Linked DNA regions of Homo sapiens: region 2 is linked to region 1. Evidence: promoter capture Hi-C in 16 types of primary human blood cells and fetal thymus (Javierre and others, 2016). All regions are on one chromosome and are shown on one strand. Each heading gives the region's core, a stretch centred on a gene start or on the middle of the fragment in contact. The rest is flanking DNA. Distances are from core to core; before and after follow the strand shown.

The links. Contacts are between HindIII fragments. The CHiCAGO score rates a contact against its expected background, and 5 or more counts as called.
Region 2: a contact is called between the fragment with the promoter of PPP1R8 here and the fragment with the promoter of ZDHHC18 in region 1, in 4 of 17 cell types (monocytes, total B cells, naive B cells and 1 more). The highest score is 13.9, in monocytes.

Annotation. Positions count from the first base shown.
Region 1 is chr1:26,824,468-26,828,676 of GRCh38, reverse strand. ZDHHC18 (zDHHC palmitoyltransferase 18) reads right to left here and starts at 1,989. Exons shown (of 8, transcript NM_032283.3): 1 at 1,538-1,989. The coding sequence starts at 1,872. RefSeq lists silencers at 1,722-1,931, 1,942-2,091, 2,055-2,207. The HindIII fragment of the contact is 7,154 bases long and covers 216-4,209 here.
Region 2 is chr1:27,828,547-27,832,801 of GRCh38, reverse strand. It overlaps PPP1R8 (protein phosphatase 1 regulatory subunit 8), which reads right to left and starts at 2,020. Exons shown (of 7, transcript NM_014110.5): 1 at 1,911-2,020; 2 at 1-46. The coding sequence starts at 1,966. It overlaps LOC124903885 (a long non-coding RNA gene), which reads left to right and starts at 1,019. Exons shown (of 2, transcript XR_007065562.1): 1 at 1,019-2,053; 2 at 3,981-4,255. RefSeq lists enhancers at 971-1,755, 1,713-1,882, 1,756-2,541 and a silencer at 2,013-2,092. The HindIII fragment of the contact is 9,216 bases long and covers 1-4,255 here.

The sequences.
Region 1 (4,209 bases), core at 740-3,239:
AGGGAGAAGCTAATTTATAGGAAGTCTTCACCTTGCTTCAAGGGGAAACCCAAAGTTGCAGATACATGATCTGGCAGCTAGAAAGGGTACCTGGGGGCGGGTGTCTCTATGATAGCCTTACCATGGCCACATGCCCTTGGGAAGTGTTTTTTGATAAAGACAACACAAGTACTAATAGCAGCCAACATAGTGTGCTTGTTACTGGGCTAAAAGCTTGCATGTGTGACCTCATGCCACCCTCAGGACAACCTTACGGGGTGGGTACTATTATAAATCCCATTTTACTGATGAGGAAACTGGGGCACTGAGGGGGTGAAGTGACTGCCCTGAGGTCACGCAATTAGTGGGTGGTGGAGCTGGGATTTGAACCAGGTCTGTTAGAGTTCTTAACTACACTGTATAATTAAGAGGAACAACCACAAAGGATGGGGAGTTGGGAGGGGACAGCAGGGCTTATGAAGCAAGGGTGGGTGGGTGGGCGTGTGAGTGTGTGTGCAAGGAATCACAGTGCAGGTGGCTCAGAGGTGGGTGGAAAACTTCTAATACAAATATATGACCCTCCATCCATAAAATGGAGATTATGTGTGGGCCAATCCTGGGTCACCGGGGGATATGAAGAGGACAAAAACCTAGGGGGGCAAATATGACCTGTCACACGAAAGCACTCCGAAGTCTTTCCTGAAAAACAACAAGGCACCGCAGCTGTTGCTGATGTGGAACAGGCCAGAGGGACGTTCCAGAATGTTGAGCAGGGAAAGAAAGCCAGGTGGTCAGCAGGGGGGCCAGGGGCCTGGGAGCCGGCTGGGTGGAGGCGGGCGGGATCTGAGGGAAGGACAGGAAGCTCTGGAGAACCTAAGGAAGGTTCTGGAGAAGGAAAGGGGGCCCGAGAGGCCCAAAGATTTTGAGAAAAGATGCCTTGGGGCCTAGGGTGTGCGTGGCTGAGGGGAAGCAAAAGCGGGGTTGGTGTCTGAGACTAGAGAAAAGGAGGGGACCCTGGAGGGACCCGGAGAGGGCAGCGAGGATGACTAGGATGTTTATGGTGGGTGTGCACAGCCAAAGGACACACAAGATCTAGAAGTGGTCAGGAAGGGATACAAGGGTCAGAAAGAACTTGGGGGGTTGGCAAGAGATGGTCCAGGGATGGGTGAGCAGGAGGGGCCTGTTCAAGAAGCCCTGGGGCAGGTTCTGAGAGGGCAGCGAGGATGGGGGCCGTGGAGGGGCATGGAGGCTGGTGTTCCTGGCAGTGGCAGGCAGACAGGTGCCAGGGTGGGGTCAGGGAGAATGGAGGGGCTGGGAGGGTGGAGGGCACCAGCGCGGATGGGGTACCCAAATGGACCAAGGAGGATGGGGCATCTGGCGGGGATGGGGGTGCGCAGGGGCCAGGGGGGCAGACAAGAGGCCCGAGGAGGATCCCAAAGGGGCGGGGAGGATGAGGACCAGGGAGGCGAAGGGGAAGGCACGGAGTGCCCAGCAGGGATTGGGAAGGTGGGGTGCGCGGCAGGGGGCTGGGAGGGGGCGCCGAGGCAGCGGAACTCACTCAAAGACGAAGAAGAGGCCGGTGGTGGTGAGGATGAGCAGCAGCGTGAGCGCGAAGACGCCGCCGTGGCCGGCCAGCATGAGGCGGCCGCCGCAGTAGAAGCGATTGCGACCCGGGAACACCTCCCACTTGCGCCGTGGGCGGCGGCCGAGGCTCCCGCTCCCGCTGCCGCTGCCGCTGCCGCTGCTGCTCCAGCGCGGCGGGGCGGGGGCGGCGGGCGGCGCGGGCCCGGGGCCCGGAGTCGGGGACGCGGCGGGGCCGGGACGGCGCGCCCCCGGGGAGGCGGGCAGCGGGGCGGCCCCGGGGCTGATCTGCTGGTACTCGCAGTCCTTCATGCAGCCAGCCGCGGGCCTCGGCTCCGCGCCCCGCGGGCCGGCCGGGCCACTCCGGGACCGGGCCGAGCAGCGGAGGTGGCAGCGGCGGCGCGCGCGGCGCTCGCTCGCTCACTCACTGGGGCGGCCCCGCCATCGCTCCGCCCCCGGCCCGCCGCCACCGCCCGCCGCGGCCTCCCGCCGCAGCGCCCCCTCCGCCTGGGCCCGGGATGGCGCTTGGCCGGAGGCCCAGCTCTGACCCGCGGCGGGGCCCCGCAGGTCCCCGGCCCTCCCAGTCTCCCTTTTCCCTTCTGCACAAAGAGGGGGCCAGCAGACGCGCACTCGAGGGCTCTTTCTGTTCTGCAAGCAAGCCGTTTGTTGGGCGTCCACTGTGTACCAGGCACGGTGCCAAACGCCGAGATTCAGGTGGTGGACTTCGTGATCTACTTCTGGCAGTCTGTAATTCCCCAGGCTTCGCCCATCTCTGAGGGTCGAACTGACAGGCATTTGCAGAGGCAGGCAGGCGCGGGGAGGTGGGGCACACGATTTGCTTTGAAAGCCAGGACCTCTTCTACCTTGAAGTCCAGAGTGCCCACTGGAGGTGTGTGGCACACCCTCTGGCCTCGTTCACCAAGTTCTGTGTCCTGGGCCCAGGCCCAGATTTTCCTAGGTAGCACATAATGTAGAGGGGTCATGCCTGAGGGCCCCAGTGTTTTTTCAGGAATTCTGGGAGTATTCATTTTCTACTGCTGTGTAACAAGTTACCACAAATTTAAGGCTTAAAACAAACATTATCGGCCGGGCGCGGTGTCTCACGCCTGTAATCCCAGCACTTTGGGAGGCCGAGGTGGGTGGATCACAAGGTCGAGAGAGACCATCCTGGCCAATATGGTGAAACCCCGTCTCTACTAAAAATAAAAAATTAGCTGGGCATGGTGGCACGGCATCTATAGTCCCAGCTACTCGGGAGGCTGAGGCAGGAGAATTGCTTGAACCCAGGAGGTGGAGGTTGCAGTGAGCCGAGATTGTGCCATTGCACCCGGCCTGGTGACAGAGCAAGACTCCGTCTCAAAAAAAACAAAAAACAAACGTTATCTAACAGGTTCCAGGTCAGGAGCCAGAGAACAGCTTAGCTGGGTCCTCTGCTTAGTCTCACAAGGCTGCAATCAGGCTGCATTCTCATCTGGAGACTCAGCCAGGGAAGAATCCACTTGCAAGCCCATTTGGGTTATTGGCAGAATTAACTTCCTTGCGACTGTTTAACTGAAGAGGGCCTGGGATTTTTGCTGGGTGACTGTATAACTGAGGAGGGCCTGGGATTTTTGCTGGGTGTCTGCTGGAGGCCTCTCTCAGGATCCAAAAGCCACCTGCAGTTCCTAGAGATTATCACATTTCCTTGCCATGCAGGTTTCTCCTACATAGCCACTTAGTTTCTTGAAACTGACAATGAGGGTCTCTAGCTCCAGACTATGATGATAGAGTTTTATATAACTTACTATATATGTGACAGAGTGGCATCCCATCATCATTGCCATCTCCTATGGTTAAAAGCAAAGCACAGGAGCCATCTGCACTCAAGAAAAGGGAATCACACAAGGCGTAAATACCAGGAGGCAGGAATCATTGGGGGTCAGCTTAGGGTATGTCTGTCACACTGTGGTTACTGTAAAACCTAAGGAAAAGTGCAAGGAAAAAAAGAACTGGAGACTAGGAGAAAGTAAAAAAGGAAGTAAAAATATACAATGGGGAGGAGTAGGAAGCCGACAACAGTGACCTTAAGGATCAATAATTGATATATATGCCAAAGGCTGCTCAGCCGTGCCTTTGGTGCCAAAGGCTCTCAATATGATGAGCCCCATCTTGAGCAAACCACATGGTGAGCTTCCTCCCTTTTTGCTCCTTGGCTGTGGAACAAAGTCACAAAACTAGACATACTGGTTCCAGTACAGATTCCTGTTGTCCCACCTTAACTGGGTCCTCTTGCAACCTGAAACCTTTTCTTTTTTCTCGTCACTTTACAGAAACCAAAGCAATCCTACTGGATTTTCAGTTTACCTCCTCTCTATCTCATAATTTCTCTTTATTTGCATCTGTCCTTTCTTCTTTTTTAGAAGATGTGGGCCTCCTTCTGTCCATGGCCAACCCTCCACTCATATCCTTATTTTATTTTATTTTTTATTTTTTTGAGATGGAGTTTCGCTCTTGTCACCCAGGCTGGAGTGCAATGGCATGACCTCGGCTCACTGCAACCTCTGCCTCCTGGGTTCAAGTGATTCTCCTGCCTCAGCCTCCCAAGTAGCTGGGATTACAGGCATGTGCCATCATGCCCGGCTAATTTTTGTATTTTTAATAGAGACGGGG
Region 2 (4,255 bases), core at 771-3,270, 1.0 Mb before region 1:
TCCTTTGACTACATCCAGATGTAAACCGGGAGGGGGCTTACCTGCCCTGAAAAATAAAAATAGAAAAAAGCATTTTCAGGATGGGTTTATAAATGCTATTTACAACCATTGTCCCATTCAACATTGCAGCTCTCCTACCAGCCTATAATTAGTTCATGTTCAAGCAGAAATGTCATCCACTTCACTGTTATTACAGCTCCATTCTACGTTTGACACTTACTTCCCTAGTGATTCAATTGCTCTGCAACAGATTTTAGTAGATCTGTATTTAGAGCAGCACCAAGAAACCTATATTTTAACACTGGATCTTCACCTCAGAGAAAGAACTGCATAGAGAGTGCAAGTACGATAGCTGGGGTGGTCTAGTCACCTGGAGTTTGAATCTGAAATCCACCCCTACTCCAATATCATATAAAGACCGAATAAATTAGTTGCTGTTTGGGGCTCATCAAGATTAGTCTCATCACAGAGTAAGCAAAGAGTACTGTCCTGAGCTCTGAAACCAAATCAGAGGTGCATAATTAGGGAACTAGGGCAATTCAAAATCATGCCCCATGAAACCAGGTACCAAATGAATATGTTACCCTTGAAACAGGTCTTTCTACAACAGCATGATTAGGGGACGTTTCCTCTATATCCTACAGCCATACCATTCAAGGGAGACTCATATGTCAAAGCACCTAACGGTGCCTGGTACCTACCAGATCCTAAGGAAAGGGTAGGTGATCTCAAAAACAGTGCTTTCTAACTATGTTTGCTATCTCGGCCCAAATTTGAAATCAATACAGCGAGGGATCAAAATGGATACAGAATTTGTAGACTGAAGCAACTACTACAAAAGTGCAAAGCGATCCAGAAAATAGCCACACATTTGCTTGCTTTTTGGGTTTGCTAATTTGAAGTTAGAAAAAAGAACCACCTCACTAGAACCTTTAGATTTGCACATGAAAAAACGTATCCTTGTCTAGCTAACTGAAGATTCAACACAGTCATCTCACAATCCTGCCCCAACCCCTCCTCTATGGAAAGGACAATGCACCGGACAAAAGGCCATTTTGTCCAGGAAAAAGGAGGAATGTTACATCCAAAACATACTTTCTGAATTCCTACTATGTGCCTGACTCAGGCCTAGGAGCTGGGAATACAAAGATGCAGTCTTTGCCCTTGAGGATGGCAATACAACGGGAGACAGAGACAAGCAACAAACAATACACTGCGATGAGCTACAGCAGAAAAAAACTCTTAATTCAGAAGCGTTTCCTTGTAAGGTAATTCATATTTATTCAACTTGTACCCTACTCAAAGACCAAATTAAATTATTTCATTATTCCCAAGAACTTTCGAAGGGATAAAAAGGGTTCATGCCAACCATTACTAATGCCTACTAGTGCCACAGACTGGGAGCTCCCTGAGGGCAGGGATGGCGCTAACCTACCCTCGTATTCTCTGTGGCAGACAGACAAGTGCCGCACGAGGGATGCAGCAACCACAGAGGGATGCGGGGCTTGGAGGTAGGGTTGGGGCCGGGGCTGGCTCGAGCGCGCTCGGGACGTACAGGAAGGGGCCAGATGCGATGCTCCACGAGAGCACCAGGCACTCAGTCAAGAGTTGGGCGTAAGTTCGGGCCAAGGCCTCGAAGCGCTCCGGCGACTGGCTAATCGCTCAAAGGGGCTGCCTAAGTGAGCGCCTTTGAGCCCCCAACCCCGGGTTTCTTCAGTTCCTGGGCCTGGGCTCCAGGCTCTCGGTTCTTCAACACGTCGCCCGGCCCGGTGCAGCAAACAGTTTTTCCTCAACCATTCCGGGGTTTCTGAGCCGTTCGGCTCGCAGCAGAAAAGTAAAAAAAGAGCCGCCCTTCCAGCCCAGGCTAGCTCCGGCCGGGCCACTCTAGCCCTGGCCGCCCCGCCACTCACCAGGTTGGGCAGTCGAACAGCGGGAGGCTAGAGCCGGAGTTCGCGGCTGCCGCCATCTTGCGTCTCCCCCTCCCATTTGGCGCGCCCTAAGCACGCCGGGAAACTGGAAGACCGAGAAGGGAAAAGCGGCATCCCAGCAGCCTGTGCGTACGCACGCTCACGCACGCCCGTACGGGGGGCGGTGCTTCTAGTGGGGACAGAGGAGCTTTTGGGATTTTTTTTTTTTCAGCGTTTGTGCGAGTTGGCCGTCTCTGGAAGTCTCCAGTGGTTAGGGTTTTCCTTGGCCAGGAGGTGTCAAAGGAAAAGGGGCTTTGTAGGGAGGGGAGTCAGTCTTTCCCTACGTCCTCCTGCAAACGCTTCTTGGCTCTAAAATCTTGGGACTAAGCCGTGCGCGATGGCTCACGTCTGTAATCCCAGCACTTTCGGAGGCTGAGGCGGGCGGATCACTTGAGGTCGGGAGTTTGAGACCAGCCTGACCAACATGGTGAAACCCCGTCTCTACTAAAAATACAAAAATTAGTCGAGTGTAGTGGCACATGCCTGTAATCCCAGCTACTTGGGAGGCTAAGGCAGGAGAATCGCTTGCACTCGGGAGGCAGAGGTTGCAGTGAGCCGAGATCGCGCCATTGCACTCCAGCCTGGGCAACAGAGCGAGACTCCGTCTCAAAAAAAAAAAAAAAAAAAGTAAAGAAAGAAAAAATCTGGGGACTACATCCTCCTCCAGAGTTTAGGTTAAGACCGTCAGCCTTTTGCCCTCAAAGCGGAGAAGCTAAAGGGCAAAACTCGGAGATTGGAGTGATTATTGTTTCTCTTCAGCCCTTCTCCAAAAAGTGGCACCCTACTCACTTTTTTCTAATTCACGTTTAGGCCTGTAGATTGTCAGGGAATCTGCATTAGGGGTCACCTAGTCTGTTTATGAAAACTCTGGACAAGCAGGAGCCAGGAGCAGGTCCAGTCAGAAAGCAGGGGTCCAAATCATCACTGTGCTTGGCTCAAATGGTTAATTTTTTTAAAAAGGATTTTTTGCTTTTGGTTATAGGGCAAGGAAGCATAAGGATTGCTCGCTTGCCCTAGATCACCAGCTGGTTTTAAGAGACCATTAGCAGGGCCTCTGGTTTTTTATTTTTTATTTTTTTATTGATCATTCTTGGGTGTTTCTCGCAGAGGGGGATTTGGCAGGGTCATAGGACAATAGTGGAGGGAAGGTCAGCAGATAAACAAGTGAACAAAGGTCTCTGGTTTTCCTAGGCAGAGGACCCTGTGGCCTTCCGCAGTGTTTGTGTCCCTGGGTACTTGAGATTAGGGAGTGGTGATGACTCTTAATGAGCATGCTGCCTTCAAGCATCTGTTTAACAAAGCACATCTTGCACTGCCCTTTATCCATTTAACCCTGAGTGGAGAGAGCACAGGGTTGGGGGTAAGGTCATAGATCAACAGGATCCCAAGGCAGAAGAATTTTTCTTAGTACAGAACAAAATGAAAAGTCTCCCATGTCTACTTCTTTGTACACAGACACAGCAACCATCCGATTTCTCAATCTTTTCCCCACCTTTCCCCCTTTTCTATTCCACAAAACCGCCATTGTCATCATGGCCCGTTCTCAATGAGCTGTTGGGTACACCTCCCAGATGGGGTGGTGGCCGGGCAGAGGGGCTCCTCACTTCCCAGTAGGGGCGGCCGGGCAGAGGCGCCCCTCACCTCCTGGATGGGGCGGCTGGCCGGGCGGGGGCTGACCCCCCCCCCACCTCCCTCCTGGACGGGAGGGCCTCTGGTTTTAATGGCATTGTCTGTTCAGCAGTTACCTGGGCAAGTATGTATTTTATATGGATCATCTCACTTAATCCTGACAATACTCTTGAGTTAGGTATTATTATAATTCCAGAGGAGAGGCTTAGAGAGATTGAGTTACCCAGCTTCACCCTAGAACAAGTGGAGTGGGATCAAAAACCTAAACCTATATGATGCCGAAGGCCATGCTCATGAGTCACTATTCTCTCTTACACTTTGATGTTGGTATAATTATATTTATTATTAGCATGCAACTGATGCCCCTCTTTTTCACTTTTGTAGACGCGTTGGGAGGATTATCTGACCAGTTTTTCCTTTTTTAAATAAATCAATTGCTAAGTTCCTGTTCATCCAGAAAGAGGCACTGCTCAGCAAGTTGAGGAATCTATGATGAAAGTAGTTCTTTTCTTGCTTCCATGCTACTGGTTCTGTAGAAAATCAGCCTATTCAAAAGATTTTTGCCCTTGATGAAGTCTCCAGCCCTCAAGATTTAACTGCAATATAACTTAGAAGGAGTGAGAAGATCAAAAAAGTAACTGCAATATAACATTAACTTG